Regions from separate parts of the Homo sapiens genome. Here all the other regions are linked to region 1. Evidence: promoter capture Hi-C in 16 types of primary human blood cells and fetal thymus (Javierre and others, 2016). All regions are on one chromosome and are shown on one strand. Each heading gives the region's core, a stretch centred on a gene start or on the middle of the fragment in contact. The rest is flanking DNA. Distances are from core to core; before and after follow the strand shown. Region 1 holds the start of MIEN1 (migration and invasion enhancer 1). Region 2 overlaps IKZF3 (IKAROS family zinc finger 3). Region 3 holds the start of PSMD3 (proteasome 26S subunit, non-ATPase 3).

Region 1 (3,296 bases), core at 510-3,009:
TTGGCCAGGCTGGTCTTGAACTCCTGGCGTCAAGTGATCCGCCCACCTTGGCCTCCCAAAACGCTGGGATTACAGGTGTGAGCCACTACGACCTGCCTGGTTTAAAAAAAAAAAAAATGAGCCCGGGTGCAGTGGTTCACACCTGTAATCCCAGCACTTTGGGAGGCCAAGATGGGCAGATCACAACTTCAGGAGTTCGAGACCAGCCTGGCCAACATGGTGAAACCCCATCTGTACTAAAAATAGAAAAATTAGCTGGCTTGGTGGTGGGCACCTGTAATCCCAGCTGCTCAGGAGGCTGAGACAGGAGACTCACTTGAGGCCGGAAGGCAGAGGTTGCAGTAAGCCGAGATCGCACCATTGCACTCCAGCCTGGCCAACAGAGCAAGACTCTGTCTCAAAAAAATAATAATAATAGTAATACAAAAGTTAGCTGGGCGTGGTGGCTGGCACCTATGATCTCAGCTACTAGGGAGACTGAGGCAGGAGAATCGCCTGAACCCAGGAGGTGGAGGTTGCAGTGAGCCAAGATCGCGCCACTGCACTCAAGCTTGGGTGACAGAGTGAGACTCCATCTCAAAATAAATAAATAAATAAATAAATAGCCTAAAGGGACACTAGAGTGGGTGGCGTGTTAGGATACCATAGTGGTACTGTAGGCAGGGAAAAGGCAGCGAGGACTTGTGCAGACTCCATTTCCAGAGCTGCAAAATGGGAATAATGACGCCAGCCCCCCAGTGAGAGGCTGGATGAGAAGGGATGCGCAGAAACTGTTGGGGGCACAGAGCCTGAAGAGCATCTACTGTTTTCCAGTGCAGGCAAGAAGCAGCTGCAAAAGACTGGAAAAAGCAGTTTAGAGCTTTGGGATCAGAAACACTTGTGTATGTAACTACAGGGTGGTTCCAAATGCCATCAGCACCGGGCGTGGTGGCTCACGCCTGTAATCCCAGCACTTTGGGAGGCCAAGGCAGGCAGATCATTTGAGGTCAGGAGTTCGAGACCAGTCTGGCGAACATGGTGAAACCCTGTCTCTACTAAAACAAACAAACAAACAAACAAAAAACTGGGCCAGGCGCGGTGGCTCATGTCTGTAATTCCAGCACTTTAGGAGGCCGAGGCTGGTGGATCACCTGAGGTCAAGAGTTCGAGACCAGCCTGACCAACATGATGAAACCCTGTCTCTACTAAGAATACAAAATTAACCGGGTGCGGTGGCACGCGCCTGTAGTCCCAGCTACTCGGGAAGCTGAGGCAGAAGAATCGCTTGAACCCGGGAGGCAGAGGTTGCAGTGAACCGAGATCGCGCCATTGCACTCCAGCCTGGGCAACAAGAGCGAAACTCCGTCTCAAAAAAAAAAAAAAAAAAAATGCCATCGGCATGTTAGCGAGAAAATGTCAACTATTTCATGCATCAGCCACACCCACCCCCATCCCCAGGATGCTTGCCCCACCACTTTCTCTTTCTTTTGTAAACTGAAAAGCGCTTTGCAGTCTAAGATAGTCCATTAGAGTAAATGAAGCCATGAAGTCCAGCGGACACCGGGAGTGGGGAGTGGGGAAGCCCGGCACTCCGGGAGACCGGGCCAGGGAAGGAGGGTCTGGACCGGACCCAGCCCCTGCCCGGGGAGCGAGCTCCGGAGCTGCCCTACGAGGTCAAAACGTAGCAGTGGCGGAGACCCGCAGGGGGCGCCCGAACGCCACCCTCGGCCCCTCCCCGCTCCAGAGGCCCCGCCCCGTCACGTGCCCGCGGTTCGCGTCACACCCGGAAGCAGGGGCCCGAGCGGAGCCGGCCGCGATGAGCGGGGAGCCGGGGCAGACGTCCGTAGCGCCCCCTCCCGAGGAGGTCGAGCCGGGCAGTGGGGTCCGCATCGTGGTGGAGTACTGGTGAGCGGCCCCGGCTGGAGGACCCGCACCCTGGTCCCGCGGGCCGGACGGAGGTGGGTCCACGGGAGGCCCCACCCCCGAATCCCCAGCCCAGCCCCATCTCTTGACTCCCCAGTGAACCCTGCGGCTTCGAGGCGACCTACCTGGAGCTGGCCAGTGCTGTGAAGGAGCAGTATCCGGGCATCGAGATCGAGTCGCGCCTCGGGGGCACAGGTGAGGCTCGCAGAACACCTGCTGGGTCAGTCTGTGCTCTGAATCCCAGCTCTCCCGCTTTCTAGTTCTGACATTGGCTGCTTTATGTAAAGTGCCCGCAGTGCCTGGCACATGGTAAAATGTCCGGCCAACATGAGTTCCCTTCCATAGGTCAGGGGGTGTCACAGAGGCCTGTGGGGAAAAACCTATTAGACTGCAATCGTGTAGGGTTGGAGGGGAGGGAGTCCTTTATTGAGTGTTGCGAGGGGCACACAGGCGAGGCCTCCCTCAGGTTCCCTGGAGTTGACCCAGGGTTGGGGAATTGCTTAAGGAGCTACAAATGGGTCTCCAGTGGGATTGATGGGGGACTTGAAGGCGGGGGACCCCTTTGGAGGAACTCCTGACTTCTGCCTATGTTCTCAGTGTACCATTTATCTGTTGATTTCTTACCAGGTGCCTTTGAGATAGAGATAAATGGACAGCTGGTGTTCTCCAAGCTGGAGAATGGGGGCTTTCCCTATGAGAAAGATGTGAGTATTTACAGCGTTGGGAGGACCTCTTGGTCACCCTACCCCAACAGTGCATCATCCTGTCATTCCACTCCTCTAGCTCATTGAGGCCATCCGAAGAGCCAGTAATGGAGAAACCCTAGAAAAGATCACCAACAGCCGTCCTCCCTGCGTCATCCTGTGACTGCACAGGACTCTGGGTTCCTGCTCTGTTCTGGGGTCCAAACCTTGGTCTCCCTTTGGTCCTGCTGGGAGCTCCCCCTGCCTCTTTCCCCTACTTAGCTCCTTAGCAAAGAGACCCTGGCCTCCACTTTGCCCTTTGGGTACAAAGAAGGAATAGAAGATTCCGTGGCCTTGGGGGCAGGAGAGAGACACTCTCCATGAACACTTCTCCAGCCACCTCATACCCCCTTCCCAGGGTAAGTGCCCACGAAAGCCCAGTCCACTCTTCGCCTCGGTAATACCTGTCTGATGCCACAGATTTTATTTATTCTCCCCTAACCCAGGGCAATGTCAGCTATTGGCAGTAAAGTGGCGCTACAAACACTAATGCTAACTAGTGTGTGTTTTTATACGTCCAGTCTGGGAATGTGGGGGGCACAGAAGTCCGGTCAGCCCAGCCTTTGCACCGCCAGGGTGGCTGTGCTGGCTGGGTGGGCTTTCTGGACAGCTACTCCTTAGGTCAGTGAGCTCCTCTGGCATAGCCAAGGC
Region 2 (3,539 bases), core at 337-2,836, 130 kb before region 1:
AGTATAGATTATGCTTAATGAAAAAACTTTAACATTTAAATTTTAAAAAGAGGTTAATTATATGAATTTGGCTATTTTAATGTCAGGTCCTTGCGTATAGAGTATTTGATGTGGTAAAATATCTGGTTCATTATAGCTACCCAAAATAGACTAATCTGGCCCATGTTTTTGATATTTAAAAAATTTTTATATCATCTTGTGGTTTTGATCTCAGTCTAGATTAGAGATTTGGTCTATAGTGTATACCTCTCTTGGCAATGTAAGAAAGTAGAATACTTCATGGAATACCTTTATTTTCTGCCCAATTTGGGGGTCACATTGATTCATAACAGTTTATTGTACAATGCAATACTGTATATCATTCCTTCAGCATATAAAGTCATTTAACAAATTCATTTATCTTTTAATTAATTTATTGAGACTTTCTATGTATGAAGATGTCAGATGAATAAGCTTTTGAAATAGAAATCTTGTAGAAATGAAGATTTAATGAATATACTAAAATCAGAAGCTATAACTTTTTAATTTTCTCACAATCTGTGACCTTAAATATTTTCTACCCAAAGACTGTTTATGAATCACTAAATTTTATTATTTGTACTATAACATCTCTTCTGTCTGTTATGGTCGGGAAATGAGGTGGTTCACAAACATGAATTTCACAGGTAATGGCAGACTTCTTATTTAATGTAAAACATTTTTATTTTTAACAATATTGAGTAAAGATTTTTCTAAGTATATTTATTACACAGCTCCCTGCTTTATAAGCAAGGTACATAAGAGATAAGTTTATCTCGGCAACTCTGAGTTACTGTTCTCACCATCAGATCATATATTATTCCATAATATATTCTCACAGGGGTTTTGAGCTGAATGCCCCTACACCAAACATACCTAGGATATTGTACAATTTTTGTCTCCTTCTTGATGTCAGCTTATATTTCTTACCACATAGATTTTGTGGTAGTAGGGTTTTGTTTCAGGTCCCTTTCCATGTTCTGGATGGCTGAGATTAACAGAGATAAAGCCTGTAGATGATGGAATCTGTTTGCCCTCCATTGTGAGCGTATGGAGGATGAAATGCGAAGGTTTTAAGAAACAAAAGCCACAGAAAGGCCGTGGCGTCCTGGTAGAACATAATTTTTCAAAATTCCTGTTTGTACTTCCTTTAATCCAGTATGCTATTTCATGCTTCCATGTCTTTGCTATTATGTTCACCCATTCTCTACTTGCTTATGCCTACTCATCTTTCAAGACTCTGCTCAGGCATCATCGCCATGAAGGCTCTCTGATGACCTTCTTCTGATGACCTCCTCCTAGTGCCTTCTGGTGATCACCCCTACCCAGTCTCTCATGTTCCTTCACCTCAGCTAAGGGCCTCTCCTTTCTGTGTATACTTCTACCACATTGTGTTGAAATTATTTATTGATGTAGGTGTTTATTCCCCCTCTGGTCTTTAAGCTTCTGGAGAACAGAGACTGTGTCTTGTTTTTGTACACTGAATGCGAAGGACAGTTTCTGGTTCATAGAAGGCCCTCAGAATTTGTTGCATTCAATTAAAATAGTGCTGAAAAAGTACTTTTTATTATGTTTATTGTGATGCATTTTATTTAAATAAATTTTTAAAGTAGGAGATTGGGGCTAGTAATTCTTTGATAAAGCTCAGTAATTTTTTAAGCACTTAAACTGTATAATTGAAAAAGAAAGCTTGGAAAACAAAAATGTTATTGGATATTTTTTGCTAGACTGTCACTTAAAGCCAATTTTAACAAAATTAGATTTAGGGGGTACATGTGCAGGTTTCTTACATAAGTATATTATGTGATGCTGAGGATTGGGCTTCTATTGATCCTGTCACCCAAATAATGAGCATAGTGTCCTATAGGTAGTTTTTCAACCCTTGCCCTCCTCCCACCCTTCCCCATTTTGGGGTCATCAGTGTCTAATTTGGGGGTCACATTAATTCATAACAGTCCATGTGTACCCAGTGTTTAGCTCCCCGTCATAAGTGAGAACATGCGGTATTTGGTTTTCTGTTTCTGTGTTAATTCACTAAGAATAATGGCCTCCAGCTGCATCCATGTTGTTGCAAAGGATATGATTTCATTCTTTTTTGTGTAAAGCCAAATTTTAACTGTTAAATTTACATAAGCAGATTTCAGGATCGCAATTAGTCCATTAAAATATCCATTGAATATGAGCAGAAATTTGTTTTCTCAGTCAGTAAGATATAGATGATGCCATAAAAATAGCATACGCTTTCAAGTGATACTTTAAAAATACATTGTTATAAACTTTTCATTCATATATAAATGTATATACTTACACTTATTTAGGACTAAAAGATTATTGATTATTGGTAGATCTTTTATCAGACATCCAGTTTTTTTTTTTTATTATTATTTTTAAAGAGATAGTCCTTGCTCTGTTGCCCAGGCTACCACAAACTCCTAGGCTCAGACGATCCTCCTGCCTCAACCTTCTGAGTAGCTAGGACTACAGGCATCCACCACCATAACCTGGTAATTTATTGTACAAACCGCCATGACCTGCTGATTTATTATCTTTCATTTTTTGTAGAAATGGGGGTCTCACTATGTTGGTCAGGTTGGTCTTGAATTCTTGGCCACAAGTGATCCTTCCGCCTCAACCTTCCCAAGTGCTGGGATTACAGGAGTGAGCCACTGCACCTGGCCTAGATAGATGTCCAATGATAATTGGCTCATATGTCAAGCTATAGTTCCAGACCATGTATGAGAAGAACTGAGTGATTAACACAGAAACTTGCCTATAGTAGGTGCTCAATAAATGTCTTTTGTCCTAAGGATTCATTAATTATTTTGAAAAGAGACCCTACACATCACAAGGCCATAGAATGTACTCTGCTATTTAGCCTTTATTAAATTTAGCTCCATATTAACTGGTATATTTATGATAATTAGAAATTATAAGGATGAGGCCAGGAGTGGTGGCTCACGCCTGTAATCCTAGCACTTTGGGAGGCTGAGGCGGGCAGATTGCTTGAGCCTGGGACTTCAAGACCAGCCTGGGCAACATGGTAAAACCCTGACTCTACAAAAACTACAAAAATTAGCCAGGTGTGGTAGCACATGCCTGTAGTAACAGCTACTTGGAAGGCTGAGGTAGGAAGATGGCTTGAGCCTGGGAGGTCGAGGCTACCGTGAGCCATGAGCATGCCACTGCACTGACATGAGCATGCCACAGCCTGGGCAACAGAGCAAGACCCTGTCTCAAAAAAAAAAAAAATCATAAGGATGACACCAAGGCCTTTTGGATCACTAAAAAAAAGATGCAATAATGAAACAATAATTATAATTTATTTATAATATATATAGATTGTTTGAAAAGTAATCTGTGTATAACTTTATTAATTAATATTACTATATAACTCATCAAAATACTTTTATCCCTAGTGATTCTGAATGAGGTTATTTTTTCAGTCTAATTGAAATCTGGTTTTTGCATCCAAAATTAAAAGTTTTTTTTTTAATTAAAAAGTTACTTAAAAAATTTAAGGG
Region 3 (3,151 bases), core at 450-2,949, 250 kb before region 1:
GTTAATGAAAACACATAAAATTCAAAATTTATATTTAGTTATGCCTTGATACAAACTGTATACATAACTTGCTCTCAATTATAGGAGAACAGCTCAAAAATTCACAAGAAAAAATGTTAACCATGTTTTTTATCCCCTGCTTTTAACTTCTCATACATTCCACAATTTCTGCAATGAATATGAATTACTTTACAAGAAGAAAATGAAGTGCCTGTAATAAACACACCCAGTAGGCAATGCTGAGTGGCACCTTTGACATTGCTGCCACTACTTTAGGTAAAAGGATCTCTATTAAATATCGATCCTGTTGCTCAACTTTACAGTAAGAGCTGATGTAGTCAACACCATCACATCCTCAAAAGCACCACCTAGGAGGATAACTTTGCTTATCTCAATGTTTTTGAGCTAGTTTCTCACGCATTTTAGTGAAAAGAAAACCTAGTAAGTAGTCTGGTCCCACTTGATCCAGAACCAGGAAAATGGCACCAGGATCACAGTGGGAAGCTCTCACTTTGCCCACTTCAAATGGAAACAGGACGCTGTAAGTGGGAAAAGTAAAACATGAACTTGGAGGAACAAGAGGACTACAGACACTCGAAACAGGAACCTCGGAGAAAAGAAATAGGAGACACCGGTATATAGGAGTTTAGGCCAAAGGTTGAGTATTACAAAACCAAACAAAGATGACACCCGAAAAGTTTTAAGTGTGTATGTACTTAAACCCTTTAGAAACAGAGGGGCAGTAAGGACCTGAAGGGAGGAGACAGCAAGGGGACTGTTGGGACACTTCAGTTAGAGAAGTAGGAAACAAGATACTAGGTCGAAATGGTTCATTCGGGGGAGTGTGCTAAAGGCAGCTAGGACAACAAAAATCTGCTGTACAGTTTTAAAACTCAGGAGTCAATATTCTAGGTCATCCTGGCCCTGTTTACACACAGACACAAACACTGGTTTCCAGCGGGAACAATCAGTCATATATTGGAGGCGCTAAAATCAGTCGGGTGGGATATAAACGGAATAGGTCAGAGGGGAGGACTTAAAAGAGGGAGTCCCCAGGCCCACTGGGACCTAGATATAGATGCAACCCCAGATATGGGGATGGAGGGGATGGGAGGGGAGTGGTTCCCAGCCTGGAGAGAAGGTTCAGTCATTGGGCCTGGAGTCGGGAGTGTCGGGGCAGTGGGAGCAGGTATCTGGGGGTGATCCCAAAGAACTGAGGGTGGTGGAGGCTGCTGTGGCTTCCCAGCAAGAAGCCAAATCACAGGGGTCGCTGTCACCCGCGATCGCGGCACGTTCCCGGCCTGGGCTGCCGTACCCTCCAAGGTGACTGTGTCCAGCTCTCGCTGGGAGTGCTCAGCCGCTGCCGCCGCCGTCTTGCCGTCTGCCTCCCCCGTCGACCCGCCACCCGTCGCTGCCTCCTCTTTCATCTCCACATCCTGGGGGGCCGGCGGCGGTGGGGGTTCTTGTTCTCCTCCGCCGGGCGGCGGTTTCGCCTTGTCCGCGCCGCGGCGCCGCGCCGAGCCCTCCTGCTTCATGGCACCCGGGGTCACGGCCTAGTCCGGGGACCGAGGCCGGGGCCTCGCGTTAACCCTCGCACCGGGGACCAGGAGCCGAGCCGGGCCTGCACACGAGCGCGAGATAGCGTCGGGCCGCACGATGACGGAGCAGCTGCAAACCCCTTCCCGGCGCTGGGCCTTCTGGGAAACGCCAGGCCCGGCAGGCCGATGGCCGAGTCAACAAAGGGGAAATAAATCCACAGCCGAGGTGCAGGATGAAGGAGGAGCTTCGAGGAAGGAGCGGGGAGGAGCCTTTATGGGTTCGTGGGGCTTTCTTTCGAGCGCTTAAGTGTGATGCTTTTATGTTCCTCTCGAGTGCATTTCTGTGGGCGTCCACGAGAGGTCCCCTCAGGCTCCAATCTGGGTTACAAAGGACTTTAAGAGCGCCTCAACCAGCGTGGAGTGGGTACAGCCTATCCGAGCGCGGGACGAGATGACGTCACGAGTTGCCGGGCGGGTTTTGCGCCCAAGTTCGCTCAATTTTCCCCGGTCGCGGCGGGGTCTCCTTCCAGATCCGCTGGGCTTGTGCTCAACGGCTGCCGGGCGCATCCGGCAGGAGGGAAGGAAAGAAGGCTGTGAAGGAGGGACGTGAAGCTAGGGCTGTTGGCCTTAAAATAAACCGAACTGGAGAGTAGGAAGAACCCTATGGGATCCGGACTTCCTTGGTTAGATTTGAGTTTAGTGCTGAACATAAGGCATACAATTTCTGCAGGCTGGGAGTGCCGATAGGTAGGAGCGTGCATTTGCGTAGAATCACTCCAGTTTAACAAAATATAGGGGTCCACCCTATGTACGGCCCACGGTTAGCAAATAGGGGGGTGAAAAACAGCTCAAGAATGTAGTATACGGGGGAGTCAGATGGTTAGATAAGCAGACACTGTGCTCTGGGCTGCGGTGGATTGGGAGTGTTGAGGAAAGAGGGTGGGAGCCCCTACTGGCAGACGCTTTAGGGAGCCCATTGAGAGGGCTTTTATACATCCAGACAGACATTGTGAAATGGGGAACAGAATAATGGTGTGCCTAAGGAGAGAATGATGGTTTACTTAGTGGTGTACCTAAGGGGAAGCAAATTGGACAAGAAACCCTACCCACTTATTTTTCAAAGGACTGCCCCACTGGTTCTGCAGGGAAGGTGAAACAAGGTGAAGGATATAGCTCCCAATTTCTTAGAACACACAACAAAAACTCTCTCCCTACCTTGAAACTTTTCTCTCTCCCATAAGTGGAAGTCCTGAGTTTTAGACCTTTCACGGACCCTACAAGACAATCTAGCCCTGTTGTAAGGACCTAGAAGGCAGGAAATATGTTTTGACCTCCTCCTTTGCATATATAAAGGGTATCCTGCATATCTTTTGCATCCTCTTTCATAGGATTGCAGGATGTTCCTTGCGTTAAACAGCCACTCGCTAACTGGAAAGATATGTGCTCTAGTTTTAGGGAACATGCCTTGACCAGTTCCTCCTCAACTGTCCTCTCACCCTCCAGGGCTGGGGGGTGGATAACAGGACTTTTGAATCATCATTGGAATAAACTCATTAGAACCTCTTCATAACACCATATCTGCAACTGAAGGTGGGCGAGAATGGTAAGGAAGA

What was found. The method cuts DNA at HindIII sites, captures the fragments that hold promoters and counts their contacts. A CHiCAGO score of 5 or more calls a contact.
Region 2: a fragment that was not itself captured here is called in contact with the fragment with the promoter of MIEN1 in region 1 in 4 of 17 cell types (activated CD4 T cells, naive CD4 T cells, total CD8 T cells and 1 more); the score reaches 6.1 in activated CD4 T cells.
Region 3: a contact is called between the fragment with the promoter of PSMD3 here and the fragment with the promoter of MIEN1 in region 1, in 5 of 17 cell types (activated CD4 T cells, fetal thymus, naive B cells and 2 more). The highest score is 7.3, in activated CD4 T cells.

The regions. Positions count from the first base shown.
Region 1 is chr17:39,728,995-39,732,290 of GRCh38, reverse strand. It overlaps MIEN1 (migration and invasion enhancer 1), which reads left to right and starts at 1,759. Exons shown (of 4, transcript NM_032339.5): 1 at 1,759-1,884; 2 at 2,000-2,097; 3 at 2,530-2,606; 4 at 2,686-3,296. The coding sequence starts at 1,796. The coding sequence ends at 2,769. RefSeq lists a silencer at 1,518-2,077. The HindIII fragment of the contact is 2,975 bases long and covers 553-3,296 here.
Region 2 is chr17:39,859,107-39,862,645 of GRCh38, reverse strand. The region is part of intron 1 of IKZF3 (IKAROS family zinc finger 3); the gene reads left to right. Among named protein-coding and RNA genes, the nearest start is that of IKZF3, 3.4 kb to the left of the region's middle. RefSeq lists an enhancer at 1,071-1,230. The HindIII fragment of the contact is 246 bases long and covers 1,464-1,709 here.
Region 3 is chr17:39,979,355-39,982,505 of GRCh38, reverse strand. PSMD3 (proteasome 26S subunit, non-ATPase 3) reads right to left here and starts at 1,699. Exons shown (of 12, transcript NM_002809.4): 1 at 1,316-1,699. The coding sequence starts at 1,535. RefSeq lists a silencer at 1,359-1,408 and enhancers at 811-1,788, 1,589-1,868, 2,089-2,268, 2,690-3,151. The HindIII fragment of the contact is 5,666 bases long and covers 1-3,151 here.